Regions from separate parts of the Homo sapiens genome. Here region 2 is linked to region 1. The links are contacts of gene promoters, found by promoter capture Hi-C in blood cells and fetal thymus (Javierre and others, 2016). All regions are on one chromosome and are shown on one strand. The core of a region is centred on a gene start or on the middle of the fragment in contact, and the rest is flanking DNA. Distances in the headings are between cores, read along the strand shown. Region 1 holds the start of RAB24 (RAB24, member RAS oncogene family). Region 2 overlaps ZNF346 (zinc finger protein 346).

Region 1 (6,077 bases), core at 1-2,500:
CCTGCCTCCGGCCACAAAAGCTGCCTTATGGCTCTCTAGCCACATGTATCTGAGGAGCTCTCTATCTCGGGGGGAGGGGAGAGGGGGAGGTGCAGAATCACAACAGGAGGTGTCTCACCATCAGCCGGGCGTGGTTGATGTTCCAGGTGAAGGTAGTCATGGTCTGATTCTGTGGGTCCACAATAGAGTCCTCCAGGACGTACACCGAGTGAGCAACATTGGCAGGAAATAGTCGCTCGGCCCAGCGTGGCATCCTGTTGGTCTTGGTCAGGAGTCGCCGGGACAGCAGTTTCTGGTCAGGGGTCACCTCCCGGTGTACTATGTCTTCCGTCAAGACATGTTTGCTGCAGGTGTCAGGGTGAAGGTGACCCTCAGAAGCTTGCCCCTAAGAGACTGCCCGAGGGGATTCCCATTTGGAGGCTCCGGGCCTAGAGAGGCCACGCCTTCCCGTAACCTTGCAGGGTGGTATGTGCTATGGTTCAAACCAGAGTTAAGGGCCCATCCCAGGGCAAATTCCCACTCCCGCCATCTGACTGACCTGGATTCCTGCCTTCTAGCAGGAATGGACCTCATGATTTATTGCACCCCAGGAAAGCGCCACGGGCAGAGAAATAGGATTTCCAACTCCAAGATCCCTCCCAACTCCCATACTGCCGCCTCTTCTTGTCTCACCACACTGAGAAAAGAATCTTACACTAAGGTCTCAAGTAAACCACCACCCAGGCCCAACCTCCCTTCAGGACCTTGCAGGCCTGGCCTGGCCGCTTCCCCGATAAGGTCTACCTAGGATTCGATATCGAGTCCTTCCTGGTCCCAGTACTTGGGGGTTACCCATAATTCGATCTCCAGATAGCGAGATGGCGCGGTTTTGCTCTTCCAAATACCACGTACCTATAGGGATTCGGGTACCGCTGCCAGAAGGCGGCGAACACTTGGTCCCAGGAACTCCGGAGCACGCTCTGGCCCAGGAAATACTTCACCATCGTCCCGGCCGAAGCGGGCTCAGCACCCGCGCAGCATCAGGGGTGCGGAGCCTGGGAGGCACGCGAGGGCCGGGCCGGGCCGGGGCTCGGCGCACACCCGCCGCCAGGCTCGTAGCTCAGTCACCACCGCACCGCGCCCAAGCAGCTGCCGCCGCCGCCGCCGCCGCCATGAGTTGTCCGGCCGCGCGCCACTTCCGGCGCAGCCACACAGTAGCCACCGCTTCCGGCGCCCGCGCCACGTGACCTTGCGGCCCCGCCCCCTCGCCCTCTAGCCCCCTCCCGCGGGAGTCGCGGCGCTGCGGGTAGGAGCCGGGTTGCGGGAGACCCCAGGTTCGGTTGGGATTCCCAGCCAGAACGGAGCTTAAGCCGGGCAGGCGAGCGAATGACGGAGTAGCGAGCTGCACGGCGGCGTGCTGCGCTGTTGAGGACGCTGTCCCGCGCGCTCCCAGGCCGCCCCGAGGCTTGGGGTCTTCGAAGGATAATCGGCGCCCGGGGCCGAACAGCGGGGGCACACGGGGCGCTGCCGAAGTGCAAGGCCACGGCCAGAGCTCGAGCCCGACGCGCTGTCTGGAGTCGTAGGTTGGCGCCGTTTGGGGTCGGGGTCTGAGGCTTGGGCGCTGCCTGGGCCGAGCGGAGATCGGGGTTTGCCTCCCGTCCCCGCTCAGGACCCTGACGTGGCTGAAGCGGCCCCGGGAGCATGAGCGGGCAGCGCGTGGACGTCAAGGTGGTGATGCTGGGCAAGGAGTACGTGGGCAAGACTAGCCTGGTGGAGCGCTACGTGCACGACCGCTTTCTGGTGGGGCCTTATCAGAACGTGAGTGCATCCGGAGGGGCCAGGCACGGTGGGCGGGGGAGTGGGGGGCCGGTAATCTGCACCTATGGCCCCGATCTCTTCCCTCTCGTTGCAGACCATCGGGGCCGCCTTCGTGGCCAAGGTGATGTCGGTCGGAGACCGGACTGTGACATTAGGTATTTGGGTAAGTCCCCCGGCCATCTATTCTTGGGAGACTCATTCCTGAGGAGGTGTAGGTCCTGCCTATTACTGGTTGATTTGTGGCCTCACAGACCCATTTCTCATAGACCCGTTTCCTTATCTGGAAAATAGCGGGGTCTGGAGAACGTGGCCTTAAGTTTGACTCAGGCCTTACTCTTTAGGACACAGCAGGCTCTGAGCGCTATGAGGCCATGAGTAGAATCTACTATCGGGGTGCCAAGGCTGCCATCGTCTGCTATGGTAAGGGGGGGGGGGGTTTGGGCTGTCTCACAAGAAAAGATGGGTGCCAGGCTAGCCAGAGAACAGCCCTTGACCACTTGGTTGTCTCCTGCATGCCGCACACCAAGACCTCACAGACAGCAGCAGCTTTGAGCGAGCAAAGTTCTGGGTGAAGGAACTGCGCAGCCTAGAGGAGGTAGGTGAACAGACCTCACTAGAACACTAGGGGCTGGGGTTTTGTTGGCCTGTGGAGGTGACCCTTGTCTTCTGCCTCAGGGCTGCCAAATCTACTTATGTGGCACCAAGAGTGACCTGCTGGAAGAAGACCGGAGGCGTCGACGTGTGGACTTCCACGACGTCCAGGACTATGCAGACAGTAGCTGCTCCTCAGCCCTTTGGGGGGTGGGGGTGTGTGGCTGTCTGGGTGGATCAAAGAAAATAGGGACTGCCTTGGCTGCCAGGGCAAGGTGCTCTAGGAGGTCTTCCTGGCCTCCTTGAACTGTGGGGTCCAGGAGACTCCCTGAACTGCTAGCCCTCCCTTTTGTCTGTTTATCTAATTCTCAGGTATGAGGCTTTAGTCACTTCTCTTTACAGATATCAAAGCTCAGCTCTTTGAAACATCCAGCAAGACAGGCCAGAGTGTGGGTGAGTGCTGTGCTGGAGCCTCACAGCAGGAACATGCAGGGGCACCAGAGGAAGCTGAATAGGGCACAGAGGGCTGGGTCACTGGGAGATCCCAGGGCTACTGGCATTGGGCCCTCGCTGATCATCATTTTTCCTGCCAGACGAGCTCTTCCAGAAAGTGGCAGAGGATTACGTCAGTGTGGCTGCCTTCCAGGTGATGACAGGTGTGTGCTTCCCCAGCCTTTATGGAGACTTACTCTAGGCCCACAGCATCTAGCCCCTTTCCTGAGTTACCTGATCCCAACAGAATGGTGCTGAGCTGCCACCTCTCTTTTTGACAGAGGACAAGGGCGTGGATCTGGGCCAGAAGCCAAACCCCTACTTCTACAGCTGTTGTCATCACTGAGTCAGCACTCACCTGGCCTGGGGGAATTAAAGGAATTCCCCGTAAGGGCTGGACCCAGCTCCTTTCTGGGCTTGGGTAGTCAAATGTCTGAGCTACCCCAGGTCCTCATGTCAGCAGAGTGGCGCCTGCCTGTGCTGGCCCATGGAACGGAGACAGCATTGGGCTGACTGTGGGCATGAGGAGGGATAAGGCTGATTTGGACCCCAGGCTTCTGCCCTGGACAGCACTTGTGTCTGCAGATTATTTAAGTGGCTTTTGATCTGTAAATAAAATCAGTGCACTGTGCATCACACCCAGCCCCTTTCCCTGCTGTGTGGATTAGGTGTCAAGACACCTAGTTCTTCCTGGGGCCACCCGGCTGGCCTCACTGCTTATATTAAGGCTCCTCCCAACTCTCATTTTCCTTTGGAAAACAAGACTTTTTTCCCCATGGTTACCGCTGAGATACTGGGGCTGTAGTAGTATAAAAGCTCACAGTTCCTTCTGAGTGCTGAAAAGAGTGCATGAGTTGCTTCGAAATAAAAGGGTCAAGCATTCCTACCTGAGACAGGTTGGTCTGACTAGCTCTACTGCATCTGTCATGTTTGGGCCCCTATGTCAGACCTGTGACTCAGGTCCTGAGCTTCCCAGTGACATCCTACAATGTGGTTTAATGGTAGGAAAGTCCTAAGTTCTGTAAGCCAGAAAGGTCTAATGGATCCAGATTTGGTTCCAATTCAGCTGCTAATTTAGAAAAGGGACTTAAATCCTCATCTTGAGTTTCTCATCTGTAAAATAAGGTGACTACTATGCAGCCCAAGGATTGTGAAGAAAGTGAAGAGTAACTCTAGTACTAAATGTTTTTCCCAATCTTCCCAAGCACTTTTTGCTGAAAGGGCAGGAAGTTCAGGACTAGGTCACAAAGGGAAGCAAACTCCCAAGTTTTCCCCAAAGAAGATCCAGATATTTCTGAGGAATCAGGTGTTAACTGTAAACAGGGCTGACACTTGCTGCTCAACCAGAAGGAAATTTATTGCAGCCCTTTCTGGTATGGAGGGTGTGGCCCCAGGCCAGGGGCTTTCCCTTAGTTTTATCCTTTGCCTCTGCTTTCCTGCCTTTATTTAGGCCTGGGCTGAGTCCTCTGCAGTGGCCAACACCTGCCTTGGAAAAATGTACAACTTAGCCAACATGGTCAGACTCACACTCAGAGAGTGCTTTGGTTCCACTTCCTTTTTAAAAACCAATTCCTCAAACTGCCCTTCCTTCATGAGTGATGGGGGCTTCCTGTGGAGGGAGACTGAAACTGAAACCAGCCACTCCCAACAGAGGGAGAAAGAGGCTTGGGCAGCCCTGTGGCTGCTGAGAGGAAACACACTATTCCCATGACGTGCTTGGAGGAAGGGCTTAGCTTCACAGTATCCCTGCGCCCCCCGCCCCCCACCTCGTACTATCTCTGGGGCTGGCTTCTGCTCTCACCCCAAACAATCCTCCCTCCTGTTAGACTACAACTCCCCACAGCCAATAAAACAAAACACAGGGCAAGGGCCATATATGAGTAAAGTTAAACTTTACTTTACAGTAAATTTTTTTTCTATATACAAAGAATTACAGTACATGTTTATGGGGACTCCTAACACAGGGCTCCCCTCTTTTTCACTAGGAGTTTCACTTACAGCTGACAATCTATGGGGGCGGGGGGGGGGGGGCGCGGCAAAAAAGCAATGATGGACCTTGGCTGATCCCCCCGACCCCTTTCTTAACAATATAGGTAGATGTCTATCGTCAGCTTGCCTCTTTGCCAAGACCTAGGAGGCGGCTCTGCCATGAGCTGCTGTGTGCTGCCCTCCCCACCTTCAGCACACTCATCTACACACACACAGGTAGCACCCACCTCGATGAGACCGCCTTGCTCTGGCCTGCCCCAACCCTGGAAGTTGAAAACATAGAACCATTTATTTCTGCTTCTACTCTCTGTGCCCATGTCTTGTCCACGAAACTTTGCTGAACTTCCAGGACCTTACACCTGAAGCCCCACAATAACCTGATGTTTTGAAAGCCATGGGAAAGCAGCTCTAGAGAAGGAACCACATAAGCAGAAACAGCGCATGTTAAACTCGAAACACTTCTTCCGAGGTTGTGGATTTCTAGTTTAATTCTTTCCACTTCCTTAGAAAATACTACCCTTAATCTTCATAAGCAGTAGAGGGGCTTCCATGAGTGGAAGAGGTAGAGAGGGGCAGAAGGGAGCTGAGGAAGACCCAACAACCAGAGCTCTCTAACAACCTGCTCCAGGCAGCGTGGACGGAGGCTATGGACAAGGTGGCCCCAGCCCTGAGAAACTCAATGGCCACCTTCACCTGGATATAGGATCTCTTCCACCTCTGGATTGCACTGGGCCACTCCAGGGTTGGGTGCAGGCTTCACTGAGGATCTTCCTTCTCCCCACTTTTAACAAAGCCTCAAACTTTTCTACATAAAATCTCCTCCCAAACAGGAACCCGGGTTTCTTGAGCTGCCAGTCCCTCAACCCTTGGCAGTGCTTATTTATACCGTGAAATTAGCACCATCATTACATTTTATTGTGTGTGTGTACAAAACAATGATCTATTCTTATTTCAATTTACACTATAGCAGCCTCTGGCCCTGTTGCACTGGCCCTAGGAAGCTCAGCTGAGAACTAACTGGCCATAGCCAATGACAGGCTCCCACAGCAACTACCAAGCAGTGACTTGGAATGTCTACACATGGAACTGCTCAAATGAAACTCAGCAAGAAAGGGGCTGGAGGCAGCTCCTTCTCTGCCATGATCTGAGAGAGGTTAGGACACTGGGCTCCTCTAACCTGGCTGATAAACCCCAAGAGGATGACAGTA
Region 2 (6,344 bases), core at 1,975-4,474, 260 kb after region 1:
AAGTGAGTAGGCCATAACCTGAGCATGTGAAAAAGACAAGGATTTAGCTTTCAACTTGGAACATGCAGTAATAAGGGCAGGTGGATGCTGGGATGGAAAAATCTAGTGGGAGAGGTAGGAGATAGAATGCTCTCATGGTATGCGTGGCCTGGAGGACTTTGGCACTCCTGAGTTATAATTATTAGTCAGGACAAAAGCTCAGCCTATAGAGAAAAACCTATAACCAAAGAAAGGGAGGTTAGGTGAGCATAATTCTGAGATTGCATTTCAGTGAAGCTGGGTCTACTTGGAGATTTTTAAGGGTTCTCAAAAGCAATTCAACTTCTTCAAGTCTGTGGCCTCAGTGAGGATCTCTGTGAGCCCCTGGCAGTAGTGCCCTGAGGACGGCAGGGGTCCCACTATAGCACTACTCAGGAAAACCAGTACCTTCCACCTTAGTGGACTGCTGCTTCAGCTTTAAGTTCTTTGCGTGGGTCTTCCCCAGGTAGTGCGACTGGGCCACGACAGGGGAGGAAAAGGTCATGTTACAGATGGGGCAGCACTGGTTCTTGTCTTTGCTTCTGCTGCTCTTCTGGTTGGAAGAAAGAACACAGGTCTGATCATACCACTGCCCCACCAGAAAATCTTCAATGGTTCCCCACTGCCCATAACAGAACAGGCATTTATGGCCCCCCTCACACATTAACCCCAACCTACTTTCTAGATTCTTCTCCAGCTACTTTGTCCCAGACTCTACTCACCATCCCCCACTTTATTCTCTGATGCTTCCTTGCTTTGCTTTGGCCATTCCTGCTGTCTAAAATGTGCTTCCTTCCTTTCCTGCTTGGCAGCGTGTCTGCTTAGCCTTCAAGACCCAATTTAAATATAAGCTTTTCCTCTGGGGGACTTTCTCTCAAAAAAAAAAAAACATCATTCAGTAAACAACTGTCAAGTCCCTTTGTGTATTCCAGGAAGAATTAACCCTGCTCCTCTTCTGTGCTCCCAGAGTACATTAAATAGACCTCTGTCATACCACTTGCCACCCTAAACTGACAGTGTCATAGCTTAGGAGACTTTTCTGTGAACTCAAGTGTGACATTGGAACACGGACTATTTGACTCATTTTTGTTTCTTATCCTTCACACCCAGCTGGAGTCTGGCACACAGTAGATGCTCAGAGTTTGCTGAACAAGTGGACCATTAGGTTTTTTTTTTTTAAGACAGGGTCTCACTCTGTTGCCCAGGCTGGAGTGCAGTGGCACGATCTCGGCTCACTGCAACCTCCACCTCCAGGGCTCAAGCAATTCTCCCACCCACCCCTGCAAGTAGCCAGACTACAGGAATATGCCACCACACCCGGCTAATTTTTGTATTTTTTATAGAGACGGGGTTTCACCATATTGCCTAGGGTGGTCTCGAATTCCCAAGCTCAAGCAATCCGCCTGCCTCAGCCACCTAAATTGCTAGGATTACAGGTATGAGCCACCGCACCCAGCCTCCCATTGCGTTCTACTTGTTGATTATGATTAGGCTAGGAAACCATGTATTTCAAGACTACATAAAGGGATCCCAGCATCTCTCTCAGAAAGCCTGATCTCTGAATAGGGTGCAAATATGTAAAATAACTTGCCCAGGGTCATAGAGTTTATCTTGCCTTTCTGAATTATAAATTGTGAGAAAAGGGCCAGGTGTGGTGGCTCATACCTGTAATCCTGGTACTTTGGGAGCCTGAGGTGGGAGGATCACTTGAGACCAGGAATTTGAGACCAGCCTGGGCAACAAAGCGAGACCCTGTCTCTACGAAAAATTTTTTAAAAAATCAGCCAGGCGGCTGGGCGCAGTGGCTCACACTTGTAATCCCAGCACTTTGGGAGGCTGAGGCAGGCAGATCACTTGAGATCAGAGGTTTGAGACCAGCCTGGCCAACCTGGTGAAACCCTATCTCTACTAAAAATACAAAAATTAGCTGGGTGTGGTGGCGCGTGCCTGTAGTCCCAGCTACTTCAGAGGCTGAGGCAGGGGAATCGCCTGAACCCAGGAGGTGGAGGTTGCAGTGAGCTGAGATCGTGCCACTGCACTCCAGTTAGCCAGGCGTGGTGGTGTGTGCCTGTAGTCCTAGCTACTTGGGAGGTTGAAGTGGGAGGATCACTTGAGCTTGGGAGGTTGAGGCTGCAGTGAGCCGTGACTGCACCACTGCACTCCAGCCTGGGTAACAGAGCCAGGTCCTGTCTCACAAATAGACAGATAGAGAAATAGAAAGGAGGGAAACCAGGGATAAATAAATAAATAATAAGGGAAACCAGGGGATGAGTCCAGTAAATTTTGAGAAGAGATAAACAAGGACCTTCCTGACCTGTGGCTACTATAATAGGAGGTAGCAGTCTATAGAGTAAACTCTTATTTATTGAGCATCTACTAGGAATTGAAATTTTACCTCACAATACCCTTAAGAAGTAGGCATTATCTCTACTTTATGGGGGAAGTTCACAGAGGTTAAGTGACTTGGCCAAACTCACCCGATCAGTAAGACACACAGCCAGCTTTGAGCCCTAGTCTGCTTAACTTCTCTTCCCATGATGAGATGGTACTCCTGAGGGATTGGGGGTTGCTTCAGCATAATGCTCATATTATTTCTGAGCCAAAAAGCACATGTGATCACCTCTCAATCACAGCAGACATTTGGAAAGGTGTTCCTTCTGCTTATTTATGCAAAACATTCAAGTGCTGAACTTAGTTCTTTTCCTTGGCCCTCAAGAAAGCAAGCAGCCTGGCTTCTTTCCATTTTCTCTTGTCTTGCTCTAACAAACCACTAGGCGGTAATATGTAATACCAGCTCCATTACTGAGTCCCTACTATGTGCCAGGCTCTGAATTGGGTGCTTTTTATAAATCTGCCCTCAATTTTAGTTCTAAAAAATCCTGAAAGGTAGTTGATATTACCATCCTCATTTTTATAGAGGAAGAAATCAAGGCTTTGTGAAGTAATAGACTTGCCCGAGTCACACAACAGGGCCAGGATTTGAAGCCAAGACAGTCTGACTTGTTCACCACACCAACCTGCTGGCTGGCTTCATCATGAAGCAAGTGGGCTCAATATGGCAGCTGTATTACCTGATCTGAGTCTAGCTTCTTCGTTTCCCCCTTTAATGTCTCCATTCCATGGATTGCTAGGTATCTCTTCACTTTGTTGGCATGTTTTTTGCTCTGCAAAAACCCAGGAGAAAGATCAAAGATAGCCAAATGCTACTTCATACTTAAGGCACTCAAAAACACTTATGAGATTTTCATCTGATTCATCCTCACAAAAAGTTTTGAGGAGGAGGTGAGGGAAGTTTGAGTTCCTGCTCTGTGCAAGGCATTTTACAGCTACCAAATTTAATCTTCACAATCTATGAGAAAATTATGACCATTTCTATTTTATGGATGAGGAAACTACATCTAAAAATGATGAAGTTTCTTGCTCAAGATGAGTAGCAGAGTTTTGATTTAAAGTCAGATCTATTTAAAGCCAAAGCTCATACTTTATGCTATGCCAAGCTGCAAGGGAAGATACACATATAATGATCCTGATTTGGATGGGGGAGATGAGACTCAAGGAGATTAAGTCAATCTTCAAGTCACAAGCCAACATGCATGGAGGCAACATCTGGGTGGCTAAGCAGCAATTACACTTCACCATGCAAGCCAGAGAGAATTAGTGGTTTGGCACCAGGTCTGAAAAGAAACGCAGTTCTAAAAGTATGATGGCATACCTGGTAATGTGCCAGCTTCTGGGACTCAGAAATAAGCAAGGCGCAGCAAACCTTACACTGGGTGTTGGTGAAGAGACATTGGTTCTTCTGGATCATGTGCTCCACTATAGAGGGGAAAACAAGAAATCATTGAGTTGACAAACACTACCTCAACAGCACTGCCTTTGAACCCTGCCTCAAACACAGGCACTGAATGATGGGATGCCATACTAGGACACTGGCAGACCTCAGCCAGCCTTTCCTACTGCCACCGTGACTCATGCTGTGTTCTCACACCACCTACACTATTACTTATTTTATAATTTTATGTATGCCAACTTTCTTTACTTAGGAACTTCTTTTAAAAAGGAATCTTTAGATCATAAACTTAAGCAGATACCAATAAAAATAAATATGATAAAAATGAGGCTTGGAGCATTCCCCAGGAAGAAGAGAACAGCAACTGTGCTGAGAGGTTTTAAGATATGGTAGCACCCAACTGAAACTTCTTCCCAGATAGAATCAGGAGGACTGAAAGACTCGAAAAAGGAATACTTTTCTCATTGTTCTTGATCTGACTTTGAAACATTTAAAATCACATAACAGGGTGGGGCGTGGTGGCTCACGCCTGTAATCCTAGCACTTTGGGAGGCCGAGGTGGGCAGATCACCTGAGATCAGGAGTTCGAGACCAGCCTGGCCAACATGGTGAAACCCTGTCTCTACTAAAAATACAAAAATTAGCCAGGTGTGGTGGCAGGCACCTATAATCCCAGCTACTCGGGAGGCTGAGGCAGGAGAATTGTTTGAACCCAGGAGGCAGAGGTTGTAGTGAGCTGAGGTTGTGCCACTAACTCCAACTTGGGTGACAGAGCTAGACTCTGTCTCTAAATAAATAAATAAAATAAAATCACATAACGTATTATATAAGTGCCACACTATATGAAACATGGTATTAACCTGTGCTTAAATTATTGTGCCTGGAGAACAGTCTTACCTTTTTGAGAAGAGAAGAGGAGGTAAAATCTCTCCCAAGGCATAAGTTCATTTTTGTTTGTTTTTTTTTTTTTTGAGAGGGAGTCTCGCTCTGTCACCCAGGCTGGAGTGCAGTGGCATGATGTCGGCTCACTGCAAGCTCCGCCTCCCAAGTTCACACCATTCTCCTGCCTCAGCCTCCCGAGTAGTTGGGATTACAGGCACCCACCACCACGCCCAACTAATTTTTTTGTATTTTTAGTAGAGACGGGGTTTCATCGTGTTAGCCAGGATGGTCTCGATCTCCTGACCTCGTGATCCACCCACCTTGGCCTTCCAAAGTGCTGGGATTACAGGCGTGAGCCACCGCGCCCGGCCAAGGCATGAGTTCTATCATGGCGCTGGCAATGTGAGGCAGAGGCAGAGGCAGAGTCTAAAACTGGGAGAGGAGGGCAGGCCCACATTTTTAATCTCCTGGTCTCAGCCAAAAAGTGGTCAAGGCTAGGCACAGTGGCTCACACCTGTAATCCCAGCATTTTGGGAGGCTGAGGTGGGAGGATGGGTTGAGCCCAGGAGTTTGAGACCAGCCTGGGCAAGATGGTGAGACTCTGTCTCTACATAGAAACAAACACACCAACAAACCAAAAACTAGCCGGGGGTGGTGGCACATGCCTGTGGTTCCAGCTTCATGGGAGGCTAAGGCTGAGACAGAGACAGAAGGATTGCTTGAGCTCAGGAGGTCAAGGCTATGGCAAGCCATGTTAGTGCCACTGTACTCCAGCCTGGATAACAGAGCAAGCCCCTGTCTTAAAAAAAAAAAAGTCGATGCCCTGGAAGAGGTTCTTGGTGGGGAGCTTTTAAGATGTCTCTCCTTAATCCACAAAATCTAAAGCTTACCTATGTCAGCCCTTTTAGGCAGAAGGGCTGTATTTCTGCCCCTAATGATCTCTTTTTATTTCTGCATTTTTCTTTTAAATGGTAAATTTTTGTGAAAGACCTTGCCTGTCTTAGCTATGCTCTGAAAAACCAAGAGAAATGACTCTATAAACAAAATTGGCCCAGAACTTTTAAAAGAGGGTCAGAGGTGGCCAGGCACGATTGGTAATGCCTGTAATCTTAGCACTTTGGGAGGCCAAGGTGGGTGGATCATCTGAGGTCAGGAGTTTGAGACCAGCCTGGCCAACATGGTAAAACCCCATCTCTACTAAAAATACAAAACTAGCCGGGTGTGGTGAAGCATGCCTGTAATCCCTGCTACTTGGGAGACAGAGGCAGGACAATCACTTGAACCTGGGAGGCAGAGGTTGCAGTGAGCCGAGATTGTGCCATTGCACTCCAGCCTGAGCAACAGCAAAACTCGGACACACACACACACACACACACACACACACACACACACAAGAAGAAGAAGAAAAAAGAAGAAAAAAAAGAGGGTCAGAGGCTTCTCACAATAAGAAACCCACATGGGGAAGGTAATACCCAGGGGTCAGAGTTCAGTCATCACTTCCTCACCTGGAGATTGTGGATTTTGTTTTGTTCAAGAGATGAGGTTTCAAGCATATTCAGAATCAGACTCCCAAACCCACAGCAAGGGCAGGTAAGCACCTGCTAAATAAATGTACCTCTCTGCTGGAATGCACTCTCTGGCCTTAGAGAGTACA

Evidence for each region. The method cuts DNA at HindIII sites, captures the fragments that hold promoters and counts their contacts. A CHiCAGO score of 5 or more calls a contact.
Region 2: a contact is called between a fragment that was not itself captured here and the fragment with the promoter of RAB24 in region 1, in 1 of 17 cell types (M1 macrophages). The highest score is 5.5, in M1 macrophages.

What each region holds. Positions count from the first base shown.
Region 1 is chr5:177,298,892-177,304,968 of GRCh38, reverse strand. It overlaps RAB24 (RAB24, member RAS oncogene family), which reads left to right and starts at 1,250. Exons shown (of 8, transcript NM_001031677.4): 1 at 1,250-1,797; 2 at 1,892-1,960; 3 at 2,139-2,217; 4 at 2,325-2,392; 5 at 2,473-2,572; 6 at 2,791-2,841; 7 at 2,982-3,044; 8 at 3,162-3,771. The coding sequence starts at 1,681. The coding sequence ends at 3,226. It overlaps PRELID1 (PRELI domain containing 1), which reads right to left and starts at 1,170. Exons shown (of 5, transcript NM_013237.4): 1 at 892-1,170; 2 at 119-344. The coding sequence starts at 983. It overlaps NSD1 (nuclear receptor binding SET domain protein 1), which reads right to left. Exons shown (of 23, transcript NM_022455.5): 23 at 4,756-6,077. RefSeq lists enhancers at 40-109, 120-189, 340-399, 420-469, 580-679 and 4 more and silencers at 910-1,049, 1,160-1,239, 1,290-1,359, 4,389-4,582. The HindIII fragment of the contact is 8,255 bases long and covers 381-6,077 here.
Region 2 is chr5:177,038,616-177,044,959 of GRCh38, reverse strand. ZNF346 (zinc finger protein 346) reads right to left here. Exons shown (of 7, transcript NM_012279.4): 2 at 3,731-3,834; 3 at 3,090-3,182; 4 at 427-571. Among named protein-coding and RNA genes, the nearest start is that of ZNF346, 19 kb to the right of the region's middle. RefSeq lists a silencer at 6,221-6,270. The HindIII fragment of the contact is 4,706 bases long and covers 872-5,577 here.